Regions from separate parts of the Homo sapiens genome. Here region 1 is linked to region 2. The links are contacts of gene promoters, found by promoter capture Hi-C in human tissues and cell types (Jung and others, 2019). All regions are on one chromosome and are shown on one strand. The core of a region is centred on a gene start or on the middle of the fragment in contact, and the rest is flanking DNA. Distances in the headings are between cores, read along the strand shown. Region 1 overlaps MARK3 (microtubule affinity regulating kinase 3). Region 2 holds the start of DYNC1H1 (dynein cytoplasmic 1 heavy chain 1).

Evidence for each region. The method cuts DNA at HindIII sites, captures the fragments that hold promoters and counts their contacts. A contact is called where the count stands out against the background at its distance.
Region 1: a contact is called between a fragment that was not itself captured here and the fragment with the promoter of DYNC1H1 in region 2, in 1 of the 25 tissues and cell types used here (lymphoblastoid cells).

Annotation. Positions count from the first base shown.
Region 1 is chr14:103,394,422-103,399,810 of GRCh38, forward strand. The region is part of intron 1 of MARK3 (microtubule affinity regulating kinase 3); the gene reads left to right. Among named protein-coding and RNA genes, the nearest start is that of MARK3, 12 kb to the left of the region's middle. RefSeq lists an enhancer at 5,329-5,389. The HindIII fragment of the contact is 4,447 bases long and covers 1,062-5,389 here.
Region 2 is chr14:101,962,210-101,967,644 of GRCh38, forward strand. DYNC1H1 (dynein cytoplasmic 1 heavy chain 1) reads left to right here and starts at 2,364. Exons shown (of 78, transcript NM_001376.5): 1 at 2,364-2,738. The coding sequence starts at 2,483. RefSeq lists enhancers at 1,917-2,056, 2,101-2,711, 2,712-3,321 and silencers at 2,197-2,356, 2,847-3,056. The HindIII fragment of the contact is 2,222 bases long and covers 215-2,436 here.

The sequences.
Region 1 (5,389 bases), core at 2,035-4,534, 1.4 Mb after region 2:
AAAAGGCCTTTTTTTGGAGGTGGGAGGGGCATCCAATTTTGTCTTCAGCCGAGAGTTCGCTAGCACTACACTCTAGCCACTCAAGCTGCTCAACTATGGTTGGTCTTGTGTACTTCTGTGTGCACTAGATAAGACATTGTTTCTGTGGGTTATGTGGGACCTTGAAGTTCAGTGTTGAAGCTCAAACAAAGCAGGTGTTTTTTCTGTATTTCTTGTTGACAGGCATTTGCTTTTTGTTGGACCTAAATATTGTGGGGTTTGTGTATGGACATTTGACACAAAAATCTGTATTGGTAGAATTTAATATAAAATCAGAGAAGTTGAATTCACAGGTTTTGTTCATAGAATTTTACATAACTCTAGTCTTTTTTCTTTTTTTGTGATGGAGTCTTGCTCTGTTGCCCAGGCTGGAGTGCAGTGGCATGATCTTGGCTCACTGCAACCTCTGCCTCCTGGGTTCAAGTGATTGTCCTGCCTCAGCCTCCCGAGTAGCTGGGATTACAGGCACCCGCCACCACGCCTGGCTAATTTTTGTATTTTTAGTAGAAACGGGGTTTCACCATGGCCAGGCTGGTCTTGAACTCCTGACCTCAAGTGATCCACCTGCCTCGGCCTCCCAAAGTGCTAGGATTATAGGCATGAGCCACAGCGCCTGGCCACAATCTTACACTACTTTCCTGAAGGGATGTGTGATGGAAAGAGTCTGGGCTTGAAAGTGGAAGACAAAAATGAGAGTCTAAGACTGATCGAGATAAAGATTCTGAAGAGGTAGAATGGACCTCATAAGATGGAGCAAAAAAGAAGGAACAACATATAAAAGGAGAAATTAGAATTTAGAGTTATAGACTGGAATTTGAAACTAGTCTTGAGATTTAACTGTGGACAAATTCACTCGGCTGTGCCTCATGGTTTTTTTTTTTTTAAATCAAAAGAGAATAACATCATTCAAGTTGTGTCTTGGTTTTTTTGTTTGTTTACTTAGATTTTTATGACTTCACTTTCTCAATTTCCTCTGTGGCCAGATTCATCAGGCATTCAGTCACTTTCATCTCTGTCAGGCTGGCCTTGTGTTCTGTCTGTCTGTTCTGCTGCATAGTTGTCATCCTGAGATCTCCCTTCACCCATATCCTAGGGATTCCCTTTGCCTTTCCTGTTCGATCCATTTTCTTCCCCTTGGTTCACTCCCAGGTTTCATTGCAGCAGTTCCTCCAGTGATTTTCTGAGAAAGTTGCTCAGAGGTAAATTTTTAAAATCCTTTCATATCTGCAAACATCTTTATTCTGTTCTCATACTTGATTGATATTTTGGCTGCATATAGAATTCTAGACTGAATGCCCTTTTTCCTCAGAATTTTGTTTTCTGTCTTATATAGCATCTGACACTCCGATTTGGAGAGAGAGAATGCTATTTTGAGTCTTGCTTATTTTTCTGTTTGTTTAAGGCTGATTGGAAGTTTTGTGCATTTGGATGGATCTTGAATACAACAGTGGGACACACTGTTATTTCTTTGTGGTGCTCTTGATACCAATATATTTAGTCTTATCACTTGGCCTAGGCAAGCACGGAATGCCCATGTTCCAGGGAGCTGAGTCGGGAGAGGGCAGAAGGAAAGATCTGTGGCTTTCTGCTTTCTCTGCTTGTTTTCAGTGTCCCTGCCCTCAGTTGTGCCCTGTGTCCCCAAGCCCAGAGACTTTCCATTTTGCCCTTTCTAAAGAACCTCCAGTTTTTTGCCTGAGTGGGAGAGGAGACCCGGGGGTCTGTTATTTAACAGACTGATAGATCTTCTTGTTTCAGGCTTACTTCACTCACACTTCTAGAGGTACTTGTACTACCAGTTCCTGAACCTTTTGAGAGTTCTATAATACAAATCAGGATTTTCCAATATCTCCATAGCTGGCTTAGGATTAATCTTTCTTATATGTGTTAAGTCATTTTCCTTCTTTTTTTAGTTTCTGAAAGTATATCTGTTACCACTTTTATTTTCTTTGTCTTGTGGCTTTTTTCCTTATGCCTTATATTTTTTTCCTTTACTTTCATATTAATGGAGTTTGGAGAGGGAGGGGAAGTAAATGCAGCCATGATTTATAACCAGACTTGGATTAGGTGTTTACATATGTCAATACATGTCTTTAAAATTTAGCTAGTACTTGTTATTATAAATAACAAACTAAGATTGATAGGCTTCTTGAAAAATTGGCGGTAAATTTGGCTAATGGTGGGTTGTTGTAGTAGAGTAGCGTTTCCCCTTTTCACCCAAGCTTTGTTACCTCTTCTTGGGTGGTGCCTGGCCTGAGATGTCCTTCATCTCTCATAAGAACTCTCCTACTTGCCCTTTGAGGACTCCATCCCTTCACATCTTGGGGTACCTTTTTTCCTTCATCTCACCCAAATGTGATCATGTCCTTTGGGTGCCTAGAGCTGCATTATCCAGCACAGTAGCAACTAGCCACATGTGGGGCTACCAAGCACTTGAAACGTGGTTAGTTTGAATTTAGGTGTTCTGTAAGTATAAAAGATAAACCAGTTCAAAGACAGTATTTCAAAAATAGGATATAAAGCCTTTTTATATTATGCATTGAAATATTGGGGGGTATATTGAGTTAAATAAAATGGTATTTAATTTAACGTATTAAATATGTTTCTTTTTACATTTTTTAATGGAGCTACTAGAAAATTGAAAATTACATATGTATGTCACATTATACACCTATTGGACAGCATTAGAGTATTCACTCTGATTTTCTCTTGGGGCAGGAATTGCCCCTTGTTTCAGTTGCTATTCCCCCGTTAGCACCCCGTGTATATCATGAGTGCCTTGAAGGTTTGACACCACACTTTTCTGTTTCTTTTATTCCCTGCTAATGCCTACCATATAGTTGACTAGCCGAAAGTTACTGAATAAACATTTTTTTTTTTTTTTTTTGAGATGAAGTCTCACTCTGTCACCCAGACTGGAGTGCAGTGGTGCGATCTCGGCTCACCGCAACCTCCGCCTCCCAGGTTCAAACGATTCTCCTGCCTCAGCCTTCTGAGTAGCTGGGACTACAGGCACCCGCCACCATGCCTGGCTAATTTTTTTATTTTTAGTAGAGATGGGGTTTCACCATATTGGCCAGGCTGGTCTCGAACTCCTGACCTTGTGATCCTCCTGCCTCAGCCTCCTAAAGTGCTGGGATTACAGGCGTGAGCTACCGCACCTGGCCTGAATCAAGATTTTTTTAGCCACAACTTGTGCCTTACAAGTTTTTTATTCTAAGGATTAGACAAGTAAATTATTTTTCACCGTATTACATTAGTTCACCTACTATACCAGTAACAATTATTTTATTCAAAAGTGAAACAGATTTTACTATATTTATGGGACAATAACAGTTCCCCCTTCCTATTCATATTCTTAGATGCTTTCTCATAAATTCAGCTGTGAAGAGTCACATTATCTTTGATCCATGTGAGACTATCTTCTTGTTTTATCTACTCCTGTTAGTCTCCATATGTCATTACTCTTACCCTCCACCCCACGTTACTGTTTTAATGTGTTTAGTATGTGTATGTGTTCTTACATAGTTTATTTTGGTATGTTTGGTACTTTATGTAAATATTACATATGTCTTATCTGTGCGCTTAATATATTGCATCTAACTGCTGAATAGCAGTGAGATGTATGCATCTACCACATTTTACCAGTCTGCTCGCCAGAGGTGCACATGTTAATTTTCTCCAACTCTGTCACCACAAAAAAAATGCTTCAACATCTTCATGCATGTCCCCTTATGGAGCAATGTAAGAGTTTCTTTGGGATATATAGCTTGGAATGGACTTGATGGGTCACAGGAAATGTCAGATTGTTCTTCTAGATGGCTGCTTCCATCAATAGTGCACCACAGTTTTTGTATTCCCGTTTCTCTGCCAACATTTCAGAGCTTTCTGCCTTTTCCCTATCTAACAGGCCTAAGGTGATACTACATTGTGGTTTTAACTTGTATTTCTCTCTGATTTTTAGAATCTCTTTATACATTCCTTGGCTTTGGGTGCATTCTTGTTTTTTGCGGGGGTTGGTGATTTTTATCAAATCAAGGACAGACATCCCATTCTAATCCTAGTTTGCTATAGGAATTTTGTGGGGGCTTTTTGGTAGAGACAGGGTCTTGCTATGTTTGCCCAGGCGGGTCTCAAACTTCCGGGTTTAAGCAAGCCTCTTGCCTCAGCCTCTGAAGGTGCTGGGATTACAAGCATGAGTCACCATGCCTGGCCAAGAGTTTTTAAATTATAAATTGTTCAATCTTATCAAATCCTTTTTCTATGTTGAATGAAATAATTGCCTAGCTGCTTTCAAAAGTGAAACGTGACTTTGTGAATATTTCTAAAGTACAAAATACTTGGAGGACAGCCATTTATTGTCACAACTTGGCTTTGTAGTTTGTTTTTGTTTTTGTTTTTTAACATTTGGAAACCATACCTATGTGTTAAGTAAGTGGCTTGTGATTTAAGGAATAGAATGCATGTAAGGGCACACTTCTTTTGTTTTACAGAAGGGATCAAGTTCTGTTCAGGAAGATTTGAAACATAGTGTAAAGTTGTTGCTGTTTTAAACTTGTAAACCTGATTCTTCTCATGTGGGAGGTACGTAAGTAGGCCTCTCAGATTTCAGGTTGGTTCTCTGCCTGGTAGATACAAGGGCAAAACTATTCTGGAACCATATTGATGTTAAAAAAATTTTTTACGGACTTCCTGCCGGCAAGGATTTTTTTAAAAGATTTTTTAAATGTGTCTAAGAAATGTTTTAATTTGTCTTCTGATTATACAGTGATTTACAATTCATGCTTCTTTTATATGTGGGCAAAATTAAGAACTAATATGTAAAACAAAATGGAGCACATTCCCATTTTTCTTATTGCTTTGAGTTGATATGGCCCCTATGTCAGTAGTGCTTTGGCTGAACGTCACAAAGACCTAACACAGTGCCCTAAACAAATAGGGGGTTTGTTTTTCTCCAAAAAGAAATTTGGGGTAGGGTGCGGTGGCTCACACCTGTAATCCCAGCACTTTGGGAGGCCAAGGCGGGTGGATCACGAGGTCAGGAGATCGAGACCACGGTGAAACCTCGTCTCTACTAAAAATACGAAAAAAATTAGCCGGGCACGGTGGCGGGTACCTGTAGTCCCAGCTACTCGGGAGGCTGAGGCCAGAGAATGGCGTGAACCCGGGAGGCGGAGCTTGCAGTGAATCGAGATGGCGCCACTGCACTCCAGCCTGGGGCAACAGAGTGAGACTCCATCTCAAAAAAAAAAAAAGAAAAAAAAAAAAAAGAAAGGAATTTGGAGGTATGCAGCGTCTAGCTTTGGATCAGCAGTTCAGTAATATTGGAGTTGGTGGTATTTTAAGGTAGTTT
Region 2 (5,435 bases), core at 1,114-3,613:
AGTCTGTCCAAGCAGACTCTACCACAGACAGGAGAAAGCTGAGGCAGCAGAACAAGAGACGGGAGAGGCCAGGTTTGGGTGAGGGGCCCTACCCCCACCAGGGTCAGCTTGGGGTGTGCTGGAGCCAGAGTCCTGTGCCAGGAGGCAGAAGGGGCACCTTGAAAGAAGCTCCCCACACCCTTCAACCCTGGCACAGCCCAGCCAGCCACCCAGGTAATGCACTTAAAGTGCTCAGCACCCAGTCAGCGTTGACCACTCTTCTCGTTATATATTAAATACAACAAACATCTTTCAAGAACAAAAAGCAAGCATGTTTGGTCCATTCATGAATCCTTGTACACTGATTGTTCGGGTTCTTTCAGTTCCCATCCACTTAGAAATAACAAACATGTTTCATTTTGAGCCTATCCTACAGGGCCGCAAATCCGGAGCCTGCAGTTTGTTCTCTTGGCCTGGGGCCAGGTTGCAGATGTTTGAGTCCCTTGGATCCCTGAGTGGCTGCGTCTCCCAGTCTGGTGCTGACTCATGGTGCAGCCAGCATGCAGCCTGCCCATCGGCCAGGTCCCTGCAGGTTTCTGAGTCTCAGATGGTGGATGGCCTATTCAGAGTTCACAGATCTGCACCTAATAGACTTTCCTCTTTGTCCCTCTTTCTACCCCTAAAGTACATGTGAGGGGAAACCCTCTGCATGGTGCCTAGCACGCAGTGAACACTCAGCGTTCGCTGTCAGTGGTGTGTTATTATTATTCATTACCATTAGGATCCTTGCACAAACTCATCGCAGTTGCCTATTTATTTTTTCCAGGAAGATTACTCGGAACTGCTTAGGCACATCACACCAGGGCGGACTGATGGAGAGCAGGAAGATGGGGTATTCATCTGTCCCCTCTTCCACATGCTCCTTAAAGACAAGAATCATCTGATTAGTCTCCGTGTTCCAGCAACCCCCTGGGACCCAGCAACCGGTAATTAGGCAAGGAATAAGCTTATTGTATGTTTCACAGTTTTTCAAAGATGATTTGGGAGAATCAAATCATACCATCATCATTCCACCAATCAGGACTCGGCACTCTGACAGTGCACTTTGATGTTTAAAAAAAACAAAAAAACCAAAAAAAAAAAAAACGCCATTGGCTTCCCTCTCTCCACCCAACTTAAGAAAGAAGTTATGAATGTGAACTTTCAAAGGCCAATTACTACCCCTTAGAAGAACCTACCATCTCTAAACTACAAAGATGGGCAGCCTGGATTCTATTATTTTTATTATTTTACAAAATTCTTAATTTTTAAATACACATAGATATAGGGTCTCGCTAGGTTGACCAGGCTGGTCTTGGAACTTCTGGCCTCAAGCAATCCTCCCATCTCAGCCTCTCAAAATGCTAGGATTACAGGTGTGAGCCACCGCACCCAGCTGGGCAGCCTGGATTCTGGCTCTTATGTAGTCATGGTGTAGGGGAGGAGGTCGTGGTGGGTCCGAACTAGGGGGAAACTTGGTGGGCAGGCAACCCAGCCCCTGCCTTGTACGGACCCAGATACTGAGGCCCACAGAATGACAGTGCCAGCTCTAGGGGGCTGGAGGAGAGCCATTGCTGGAGGTAGCTGTTCTCAGTAGGTCTCCCTCTTGGTCCTCACAGCGTCCTCGGGGACAATGATTTTTGTCATTAGGAACCAGATCCCATCACAGCTTGGCTTTACGTACAGTGAAGGTGTCATTCCTGGCTTAACCTTACACTGCCCCGAAGGCCCCCTCCCCAGCTGTCCGTTTCCAGCCTGGCAATGGGACTCTCTGAGCACGCCCCTCATCTCCTCCCCCTCTGAAAAGTATCCTCAATCTCCCGGTCTATATCTAATAACACATCTGTCGTGCCTATATTTTGGTACCTGATACGTAGTCATTCATTCATTCAATGAGAGAACATTTAATGAGAGGTTAAGGGGCTTAGAACAACGCCGGGCACAGGCTAAGCGCTCACTAAACGTTAGCTCTCGCCAATAACATCACTGATTCACTATAAAGTTTCTCTGGCTGTGTGCTATTCGCTGCGTCCACAGCAGTGAAGAAGACAGACGCAGCCCCTGACCAACCTCGCCAAGCCCGGGCGCCGAGCCAGGACGTTGAGCCAAGTCCCCATCTCCTAGGACTCGCAGTGCGGAGGCTGCGGGCCCCGACCAGCGCCGAGACTACAAGTCCCAGAAGGGCGCGCGGCGACATCGCCGGGCCCGCCCCCCGCGCACGCGCGGCGCCGTGACGCTAAGGCCGCGAGCGAGCGCGGGTGGCTGCGGCGGCTGCGGCCGGCGGGGCGGGGCGGGGCCACCTGGCAGTGGCTGCCTTTAGGGCGGAGCCGGCTCCCGCTCTCCTCAGTCTGCGGTGGGCTAGCGGACGGTCCGGCTTCCGGCGGCCGTTTCTGTCTCTTGCTGGCTGTCTCGCTGAGTCGCGGCCGCCTTCTCATCGCTCCTGGAAGGTCCCGAGCGCGACACCATGTCGGAGCCCGGGGGCGGCGGCGGCGAGGACGGCTCGGCCGGATTGGAAGTGTCGGCCGTGCAGAATGTGGCGGACGTGTCGGTGCTGCAGAAGCACCTGCGCAAGCTGGTGCCGCTGCTGCTGGAGGACGGCGGCGAGGCGCCGGCCGCGCTGGAGGCGGCGCTGGAGGAGAAGAGCGCCCTGGAGCAGATGCGCAAGTTCCTTTCGGACCCGCAGGTCCACACGGTGCTGGTGGAGCGCTCCACGCTCAAAGGTGCGGGGCCGCGGAGGGCAGGGTCGCCAGAGCCAGGCCTCGCGGAATGCAGGGCCTGCCAGGTCCTCCGGGGTCGCAGATGTCCCCGGGATGGGAGGAGCCCGGCAGCTGCAGATGACCCCTGGATGGGCAGAGCCCGGCGGCCGCAGACGTCCCGCCGGCCGGGTCCCCAGGGCCGCAGACGCCCCGCAGAGGCCGGCGCGGCGCCCGGGGCTCGCCCTCGCCACACCCACTGCCCGGCCCGGAGCCCCCAGGGCGCCCCGCTCCTGGTCGCGGGGAGGGGAAAGGGGTCCCCGTCTGCCGTCACCCAAAACAATGGGGTCGCTTTGTCTGCTCGGGCCTCTCAAGATGGCCGAGTTGGGTGGAGACAGCGTCTCCCTGGGCTGAGAGCGGGCGAGGCCGCATCCCTGCCTCCAGTGTCACATGAGCTTTTCGGTTTCGATTTGTGTCCAAGCCAAGTGGCCTTCGGGAGGGATGTGTCGGGGGCAGACCCGCGGAGCTGGGGGCAGCCGGGGTTCTGGTTCGGGAGGAGGTCGGGCGGGTGTCCCAGCCCTGCCTTGTGGGGACCCAGAGGCCGAGGCCCACAGAGCGACGGTGCCAGCCCCGGGCCTGCGAGCATCACTGTTGTAGGTGGATGCTCTCACAGCATCCTTGCTGAACGGGTGTATCCTGATTTTACACCTGAGGAAACTGAGGCTCAGGTTAAGTGATTTCACCCAAGGTCACCAGCTAATCTTAGTCCTGAGACTAGACTCAGTGTCTCAGCTCCCCATCCACTGCTTGTTTTCACTGATCATACCTCATATTTGTTTAATGCTTCGATGATGTTAATGATAACCCTGTAATATTTGAGTCTAATTTTACAGATTAAAAAAAAAAAAAAAGATTCAGGTTAGGCACCTAGTAGGGGGAAGAGGCTAGAGTTAGCGTGTTCCAGCTGTCTCCTCAAATAATGATCGCCCACCAGCAAGGTTACATTCATCTAAGTCTGGGGCTTGCCTGCAGGCAGGCTTTCTCATGGATTCATTACAACCACTTTGTAGCCCATTACAACCACTTTGGGTGTGGCGTGTCCATCTAAGAACCTAAGGATGATGTCCAAGGTTAGCCTCTAGGGATTGGAGATTGTCTAAAAATATTTGCCAACAAGCTTCTTAAAATTTCAAAAAACTGTATGGTTCTCTCAGTGAGAGACCCTGTACTGTCTGCCCCATCCTTAACACACACTGTGTTTCTGATGGTTTGTTTCTTTCAAAGGCTATTCTTACTCAGAAGATGCTTCCCTGTAGCCTTGGTTTCCTGCCAGAGATTAGCAGGGTGTAAAAGAATATTTTTTTCTTATATCCACGTGGAATGTTCAAGGCAAATAAACCATTTGAGCATATTTAGAGTATTAATGTTTTTGAGGGTTGTTTACTGTGATGTTTGGGATTATGTATTCCTAAGTGGAAGCCACAAAAGTTAAAAAAAAAAAATTTATCTACTCTTTTTTTTTTCCAAAAAACATATAGTCATTGTAGAAAATGTACTATACAGCTAAAGTAAAAATCACTGGGAATTGTTTGACCCAGATATAATCACTGTCAGCATTTTTGGTTTATGTCTTTGTGGTCATTTTTCAATGCATATTCGTCATTTTATTAAAATACATTTTAATCTGCATTTTTAAAGTTAATTGTATTTTGAGTAGCTTGACCATTGCTAATCCTTGATATTTTTATTGCATAGTTTATGTATTAGAATCAGTGATTTTATTTTTTTTACCTTGTGTCACTCTTTTTATGAAAAAAAATTTAAGTTTTATACTTTGCTTCTAGAGTGATCACCAGTAATTCGCTTTTTCCAGGCATCTTAAAATTGGACGTTGCTAAAATTATTGGGGTGGGGGGACTATGTTTATGTAGTACAATATCTACTACAAATTCTCTCTGTTGTCTTATGAGTACCTTTTTTTCTTTCAGCAAAACAAATATGCAGGTATCCAAATCTTGGCTCCATAATGACTTGCACTTTTGAAAGTTGACTAAGGAATGAGACTATCTAAAATTGAAATCCTACCTCATTTCTGTATTTATAACAATCCTTGAAGTATTTCTACCAATTCAACCTGTCTATAATTTATTTTTCACTTACAAAAACCTAAGGAAAGATTTTTAAATTAATCCAGTTTTATGATAGATGGTCTGTTTGTCTTATTAGCAGCCTGGCTACACTAGGACACCTTAGATATAAGTAGAGACCCAGGACTTTTGGTAGGAGGGCTTTCTTCTTGGTGGCTTTTATGAGTTAGCTTTGGCATTTGTACATTTAATCAAATATGTGCATCCAGTAGTTAATTACAGTGAAAAGATAGGCATGCATTAATGTAGACAACAGAGCTGAATTATTTAAACTGAATAAAGATCACCAACAATGAAGTCATGTAATTTAATGAACAGTAGAAATTACTTTTATTTATTTTATTCCTTCCACTTTTTTTGTGGAAGTATCCAAACACTTGTAATTGAATATAGAAACATTTTTATGTGAAACTATATATATTTTTTATTTGTTTGTTTGTTTTAGCTACCCCAGCTAGCCATAAACTTTTGTTGTTAAAGTGCAGCATTGAGCTGGGTGCGGTGGCTCACACCTGTAATCCCAGCACTTTGGGAGACCAAGGCAGGAGGATCACTTGAGGCCAGGAGTTCAAGACCA